Regions from separate parts of the Homo sapiens genome. Here regions 1 and 2 are each linked to region 3. Evidence: promoter capture Hi-C in 16 types of primary human blood cells and fetal thymus (Javierre and others, 2016). All regions are on one chromosome and are shown on one strand. The core of a region is centred on a gene start or on the middle of the fragment in contact, and the rest is flanking DNA. Distances in the headings are between cores, read along the strand shown.

Evidence for each region. The method cuts DNA at HindIII sites, captures the fragments that hold promoters and counts their contacts. A CHiCAGO score of 5 or more calls a contact.
Region 1: a fragment that was not itself captured here is called in contact with the fragment with the promoter of CLRN3 in region 3 in 4 of 17 cell types (monocytes, M0 macrophages, neutrophils and 1 more); the score reaches 10.8 in monocytes.
Region 2: a contact is called between a fragment that was not itself captured here and the fragment with the promoter of CLRN3 in region 3, in 1 of 17 cell types (monocytes). The highest score is 8.4, in monocytes.

What each region holds. Positions count from the first base shown.
Region 1 is chr10:127,993,688-127,996,387 of GRCh38, reverse strand. All of the region lies in intron 2 of PTPRE (protein tyrosine phosphatase receptor type E), which reads right to left. Among named protein-coding and RNA genes, the nearest start is that of PTPRE-AS1, 61 kb to the right of the region's middle. The HindIII fragment of the contact is 2,475 bases long and covers 190-2,664 here.
Region 2 is chr10:127,973,391-127,976,090 of GRCh38, reverse strand. The region is part of intron 1 of PTPRE (protein tyrosine phosphatase receptor type E); the gene reads right to left. Among named protein-coding and RNA genes, the nearest start is that of PTPRE-AS1, 41 kb to the right of the region's middle. The HindIII fragment of the contact is 1,870 bases long and covers 338-2,207 here.
Region 3 is chr10:127,891,689-127,894,388 of GRCh38, reverse strand. CLRN3 (clarin 3) reads left to right here and starts at 1,448. Exons shown (of 3, transcript NM_152311.5): 1 at 1,448-1,833. The coding sequence starts at 1,605. The HindIII fragment of the contact is 797 bases long and covers 848-1,644 here.

The DNA.
Region 1 (2,700 bases), core at 178-2,677, 100 kb before region 3:
GCAACACGCAACCACTCACGTCCCAAACCCTCTCTTAGGTGTTTATTTCTATGGTGGAAAGCGATTTTGACGGGCCAGCTTTCGAGATCTTCCTTGTAATCTACTATTGCCTGAATGGGCATCTTTAGCCCTTTAAACTGCCTTTGGTGAAACATAGGTAAAGTTACGTGTTGCCAAGCAACGGAAGCTTCTGACATTGCATGTCCTTCTTAGAGAAGCTCTCTCCCTTCCAAATAATTAGACATCAGTCACTACTCCACGTCCACACTGGGAATAACACAGAGGACTCAACATCATCCTGAAATGAAAAGTGAATCACACTGATTCCTGGCAACAAGATGTCCATGAAATGAATTTTCCCTTAGAAACCAGGCTCTTTAAGACCAAGGCTGGCATCTAAGACAGCAGCATGTAGGCTAGATGGCTTGCTGAACCCTCAAAGAAAGCCCCCCTCCATTTCACGCTAATGCACCCTTTACAAATAGAGGTCAAATCCATTTAGTTCAAGGTGGTCTCCAATACTTTGCGTGCGTGTGTGTGTGTGTGTGTGTGTGTGTGTGTGTGCTCGTGTAGAGTTGGTATAAACATGGACAGAATGCTAAATGAGGCACCTAAGAATGATTAGTTTGTGGCCTGACAATTTTCCTCTGACACTCAGCAAATTCATCATAACTGCAAGCAATGCTTGCTTTAGCCACCTTGATATCCCATCCAGAAGAATTAATCAAATGTTGCAGCATCGTTGGAAAACAGGTTTTCATATCGGTGTTTAAACAACCTATTGCATGATGGTGCTGATGAAATCACAGAAAGGCTTGGATGCTATCCAATTCTAAACCCCACCGTCAGGGTCTGGACAGTCAGCTAAGCCCCAGCTGGGTAATTTTGCGGTGCTATTCTGGATCTGCAGATCCAGATCCCACTCCTCCTCCTAGCTTGCCTTGGCTTCTGGATACATTTAGTAAGAAGCAAAGCACATAACCATCTCCAGGGACGCGGATGGAAGAAAACCAAGAAGACCAGGTAGCATGGGCCACTTGACACTTGAGCCACCTCCCACTATGAGGAACCAGGTGGGTCGGTTTATCTCACAAGTGGACACGGTGCCTTTCATAATTCCCTCATCCTCAGAACTCACTGGGAGACACACTTTGGGTTCTCCTCTCTGAGAACAAAGATGTGTGGATCTGTGAAGCCTGAGTTTGAATGCCAGGGCCTCCTGGCTCTCAGGAGTGGTGGGGGTTGAGCCTCTCTTGCCAGCTGCTGACTCTCTGCCCTGATGGAATAGGCACCACCATGGGACTGGGCTGAGGTCAGATTTACTTTTTTTGGTGGGCGACACCTACAGGTTTATTGACCCGGAAGCCCTCACCTTAGAACGCATCTCCCAGTGACTGGTTCAAAACAAAATCCCTTTTCAAGACACAGAAGTTCAATGCTAGTAGGTGGCTTGGATTGGTGGGTACATCCCTTAGCTCTTAGGAATCCTAGGGATGGGGGCTGGGGAGAGAACTGCTATCAGAAACCCAAAGTGAACTGAAATGTGCAGTCTTGGCCCAGTTTGGGGCCAGTGCAGACCTGGAATGAGGCTCTCCCTTACGTTCCAGCAGGGAGTCAGGAGGACCAACAGCCCCTGCGACATCGGGCTGCATGGCCACAAAATAAAACAAAACAAATGTGGCCACATCAGTGAAAGAAATCACTGAAGCCAGTCTGGTGTTGGACAGAGAAAAATCACTGAAAATTGACTGAGCCACTTGGAGGTGTTAGTTGACTTCATGTATTTATTTATATCCAGCTTGCTCCTAAAAGGATACAAAGTCACGTAAAGACTATTCATTCATGCACCTAAAATTCACTGGGTGCCTCTCTCATGCCAGCACTTGTGCAAGGGGACAGAGGGATGGGATCCCTATCCTATGGGGCCTGCGTTCTTGCGGGTGAGAAAATGGGTAAATACCACAGTTCCAAATACTGGTAAGTGCTTTAATGACAATATAAAGTAAAACGGGGGTACAGAAAGTAACTTGGGGCTGGAAGTTGGATAGGTAACATCAGATAGAGTGGGCAGGGAAGGCCTTTCCAGAAACTAATGATGGAATCAGAGAAGAGAGCTCTGGCTGTGCTCCCCCGGAAAAGAAAGTCCTTCGCCAGTCACCATGGGCAGGACCCTGCAGGGCTCTGACCCTCACTTCTCGTACTCAGGGTGGGCTTCGGGAACACGAGAGCAGAGCAGTGCTCAGGCCCTCACTCAGAAGAGAGCCCCTCATGCTTGGGGTTTAATGCTCTGTAACTGCTACCTTCATATGTCATAAGAATTTTATCTCTGAACTTGTGTTTTGTGAGGGAACTCTGGTGGGGCAATGGGACATGTGCCGGGGTATGACCCCTCAACTCACACCTGGCCCACCTTCTGCTCCATCCCGCTGGGTTCTTGACTGTCCACTTCCTGCCCCGACCAGCAACTGAGACTCCCCCAACTCCTCAACAGGGAGGATGGGGGCTGGATGGATGCCTTCTACCTGCCCAGTTGAAGGCAGTGAGAGTATCCTAGTGCCTGGGGGAATGTGACATTAAATAGAAGGTCACACACACACACGCACACACACACACACACACCACTATGAAAGATCCAGAGAGAGAACACGAAGAAAGGAAAAAGCTTTTTTTCCTGCCTTTTGAACGAGTGACCCCGGGTTT
Region 2 (2,700 bases), core at 23-2,522, 82 kb before region 3:
GGGATGGACGGTGTTAACTGCCACCAAGAGAAGACCCTTGCAGAAGAAACAGCCACTGTAAGGACAGGAACTTCATGCCAGACTCCCCGCCAAGCACCCAACAGGGATCACTGCATCCTCTCAATACTCATATGAGGAGTTTGTTATTAGACCCACTTTGCAGAGGGGGAACTGAGGCTCAGAGATATAGGGTAGCTTGCCACAAGGACTCCCCACACTGGGTAGTGCAGTGGGACTTCAGAGCAGCAGTCCTCGAAAACAAGGCCTGTTTTACTCCCCTCTACCTGCCTCGCTCCTCCAATTGGGCTCGGACTCTGAAATGTATTCAGGACAAGCTTGCTGGGTGCCTGACGCTAATGGTAACTGAACACGCTAAAGATGTTTTTCTTGAGCTAATTCCTGTTCAGTGAGCCCCAGAGAAAATGATTGATCTCTAATACTCAGATATGTTAAATCAGTGTTTTCAGGTTTTCTTTTTCAGCGTGCCAATTGGAAACACACCTGCCTTTCACCAGGTGACCCTAGGTCTGCGATGAGGCTAAGCATGTGTGTGAAGGGCCTGGTTGGTGATGATCTTGACACTCGGCTGTCCACGGTAACCTGTGGCCAGAGGCCAGGGCAAAGCAATATTCACTAAGGCAGAATGGATGAGCTCTGGCATTAAATAATTATTCAGAAAGATCATTTTATTATGAAATAATAATAATTATTATTCACGAATAAGGGAAATAGCATGTTTGCTGATGAGATTGGCACGGATAAGAAGAGTAGCGTGTGTTGGTAAACAGCCCTCTGGATTGCTTAACAGGTTTGGAAGCTCACAGGAAGAGCATCAAGTCGGGCAGACACCACGGTGATCCACCTTCTAGAGGCCGCTCACTCACACAACCGTGTCTCACGGGGCTCCAACACAGCACAGTCCCCCTGCTTCCCTCATGCTGCTCCCTGTCCCACAAAGCCTCAGTCTCACCCAAACCCACTAGACGCCAGGTGATCCAGTAGGTCAAGTCCTACTCTCTCCTTGACATCTTTTCTGAGCCCTCTGGGCTGCCCTGGTTGTATCCCTCCTGGTGCCTAGCTGTTCCCCGCCCGCCCCTTCCATCTTTATGTGTCTTCACGTCTCTACAACAACACAGTACAGTAGGACTCTGGATTAACATTAAGGATATTTGCTGCCATTTCAGCTGCCCTATGAGGTGGGGAGGTATGATCCACATTTTACAGATGACGAAGGCAGGTGCAGACCCTCCCCAAAGACAGAGCATCTGTGGCTAATTTGGTGATTTCTGAATAGAAAACCTGCTATCTCTAGCTTGAACATCTTCAGTATATGAAAAGTTCTGTGCATGTACCAGAAACTCATAAAATACTAGTTGAATGAGTACATCAATATGCTAAACCAGCCATTTAACATTAGTGAGCATCTACTATGTGCTATTTCTGTGCCAATTGCTTAGGATTTAGAGATTAAAAAAAATACATGGACAGAACCTCAGCCTCCTTACCCTAAAAGAAGTCCAGAGGACAGGCTTATAAACAGATCGTTGAAATGCAGGGGTGAGCAGTGCTAGGTCGTGGCAAGCCCAGGGGCCATGAAAGATGGAAGCAGAACACTAACCTGTGTTTGGCTAAAGTTAGGTCATCTTTCTCAAGAAGAAAATTCCCAGGAAGAACACATAAACAAAAACCGGGAAGCCAGAGAGTGTATGGAACATTCTGGAAATGGCAAATAAGTTGGATCCTGGCTTTGACCTTGGAACAAGTCACAACAGTTTTAAGCCTAAGTTTCTTCATCTGCGAAATAGAGATAATAAAATTTCCTGCTGGGTTAGTAAAGGAGGTAAGGACCGGACGCAGAACTCAGTATAAGGCCTGGACCCAATAAATCACTGCTGTGAGCCTGGGATGTGTGGTGGGCAGATCCCGGAATGCTGCAGAGACCTTTGGCTTTGGGCTGAAGCCACAAGGGGGCTGCAGAAGTCTGCAAGCCTGGGCATTCCCATTCTGCTCTCTGCAAAGTAGGTCACTGTGATGGCTGCAGAGAAGAATAAGGGGCAGGACCATGCTAAGTGTGGACTGTGGATTCCTGACTAATGAGGCCACACCTGTGGTCCAGATGCAGGATGAACAGGTGTTCTCAAGGGCAGTGGTGGGCGGCCGGGGAGGGGGCAGCCATTTAACAATAGAGGAAGCAGAGCTCACAAGCTTTGGAGGCATGTGAGAAGTGGGGAAAAGGGAAGGAAGCTAAGCGTGACCGTGGGCTTGGCTTGGGGGCCTGGGTGAAGCGTTGCCATCGACAGAGGTGGCGTTCAGGCGCAGAGCTATCAGAAAATGATGCATCCTTCACAGGCATGCAGAGGATATTAGCGAGAGACTAAGAAAATATATTAGCCTGAGAAAAGGGGAGACCCATCCTGAAAACAGATCAATTTTTTTTTTTCAGGAATATGGTACTCAGAGCAGAGACGTTTGTTAGATATTCCTCAGGAAGATTCTGAAAATTAGGAAAGCTGATGAATGAAAAATCTGCCAATCGACTAGCCACTTTGCTGAAACATTTGTAAATATTATTGTTTTAATGATCCTCCACCCCACAACAACTGGCTGATCTGAACCATTTAAACTAGTTCATAAATAAGAATCCCTATAAAATGCACAAAAAAGAGGCTAGCTTGAAAACAAATGAGAGATAACAGAGAA
Region 3 (2,700 bases), core at 199-2,698:
AATGAGCAGCTGGGCAATGTGTAGCAACAGCTTCAGTAACATTCACAGACTTTGACTCACTTCTAGAAGTCTAACCAAAGAAATAATCAGAGATATGGACAAAGGTTTATGCATAAGGATGTTCATGCATTGTTCTTCCTTAATCATAATTTTAAGATAGAAACAACATAAGTGTCCACAGTAGTAGAGTATGTGTGTACGTATCTCCAATAATTTATTGAACAAATGTTTGCTGAGTGTCTTCTCTGGGCCAGGCTCTTTGAGAGTTCCCTGGAATCCAGTGGTACACAAAACAAACATGTCCACCTCCCGGAGCATGTCATCTAGTTACAATAACGGAAAAGACAGATGATCAGCTAGTTCCACAAATAAGTTAGGTGTTAATGAAGAAAAGTAGAGGATGAAGTAATTGCGTTTTTTTGCCATTAAAAGTAAATGTAACTTTTAATGGCAAAAACTGCAATTACATTTGCACCAACTTAATATTATATTACTAAATAATCAAAGAATACAGTAAAAAGCGGTATGGAAAACATGCTATGAATGTCTATTTATCATCTCAAGAAATGATCTTTTCGCCAAATGGGAGAGTTTTTCGAAAGTCCAGAAATGACCATTTATAAACTATTTACCATTCAACAGAGTGGATACAGCTATAACGACCAAAAACAAGAATGTTCAGAACCATCTCTATCAGAGTACTAAAAAGTAATAAAGATGAAACTTCTCAAGATATAATTTAAATAATACGCAAATATGATCCAATTTGAAAGAGGAAATTTGAAAGCCAAACCTCTCTGATAAAGTCTAAAAATAGAGAGGTATAAAACATAAGGAGGTGTAAGCTTTTCTCTTTCCACTCCACAGTACATTTGACAAAGGTTTACCCTCCTTAGGATTCCTCTTGGAACAATTATAAGAGTCAAATCACTAATGAGTAAAGAAACTGAGCAATGCATAGCAAAAACTTCAGAAAAATCCACAGACTTCGTCAAACTTCTAGAAGTTTAAGCAAGGAAGCAAGTGGAGATATGAACAAAGGTTTATGCCTAAAGATATTTGGGTGTTGTTCTTTCTCAATCATAATTGTGAAATTGAAGCAACATAAATATCCACAATAGTGAAGTATATGTTTACATATTTCCAATAATTCTTGGAGGAGTTGGGGTTTCATGTTGTTGTCTGCTAGACTCAGCAACGCTTTGGGAATACAGATCCTCCACGCCCTATTATTTAGGAATTCTACTCCTGTCATGATATGGTAGGCTAAACTTGCTTCCATGACACTTGGCCAAGGATTATAAATTAATTGCATGATTGAGGAAGTCCCTGGGAAGACCATGCCCACCCCTTGTTCATGCTGGTTGGCTGTAACCATAGCAGCCTCTTACTCCAGACCAAAGTTCAGCTACTGTTAATTTTATGGCCATGTTCAGAGTTCAATGTCCATTAGCATAACCCTTCCTCAGGAAGAGTGAGATTTTATATTTGACAATAAAGTGTTAGACTCCATTTCTAAATACCAGACTTCAAAAGATAAGGTTCAAAAGTGTTATAAGAAGATATTCCTTTTTTTGTCCTAGAGAACTTATTTTCCTGTGAAAATGCCTACCACAAAGAAGACATTGATGTTCTTATCAAGCTTTTTCACCAGCCTTGGGTCCTTCATTGTAATTTGCTCTATTCTTGGGACACAAGCATGGATCACCAGTACAATTGCTGTTAGAGACTCTGCTTCAAATGGGAGCATTTTCATCACTTACGGACTTTTTCGTGGGGAGAGTAGTGAAGAATTGAGTCACGGACTTGCAGAACCAAAGAAAAAGTTTGCAGGTAAATGATAAACTAATTTGAATGAATATAGTGAGATTGAATTAAGGTTTATGTCATTCTATATTTGGGCCAAATAACCATTCAAAAATAATTTCTTTGTAAGTTTTGGGTTAGGCTGAAGGTACAAGCTTAACTCATAATTTTGGAAATTTGCCATGTCATTATTTGAGCTTCCTCGGTTCTCCTTGTGTCTATTAATACAATAGTCTATATCATTCTAGCAGTGGCTGTATTTAAATAATACCTACCAAGTTGACTGACAAGTAAATAAGTAAAAATATGTGGCAGCAATACGGCATTGAATAGCCAGTAGGAACACATGTTTTAACTGTATTGACTGGGTTTTTAGCTGGAGCCACAACCTCTGTCTAGAACTTCACAAGTGGCATCTATGCAGGAAAGAGTAAAATGGAAAATTTATTATCTCTATTTCTCAAGTTCATTTCTTTAACTGATTTTAATTTACCTCCAAAAAATCTAATCGTTGGAAATTATATTAAATTTCCATTAATTTATTAATTGTATATTTGATAGGAATTCCTAAACATTTTTTTTTCTGATTTCTTATATAATAATGCCCTCCTCTCCATGGAAGTAAAATTAAAAGTTCATTGAGAATAATAAGTTGATTTAGCTACTTATTTGACTTTTGAGGTTTGATAACCTACCTTCATGTTTTCTAAATTTAAAAACATTTGTAAATTATGTAACACATTAAGTGGACTTTGTTTTGAACAATGTTGTATGCAAGTATTATACAGGCATTATTGGGTATCATACAGTCATTACCTTTTGACTTATAAATATGCATCATTTTCTACCTTATACACATGTAATGTTTAGTCCTTGTGTAATGCATGAAGAAGT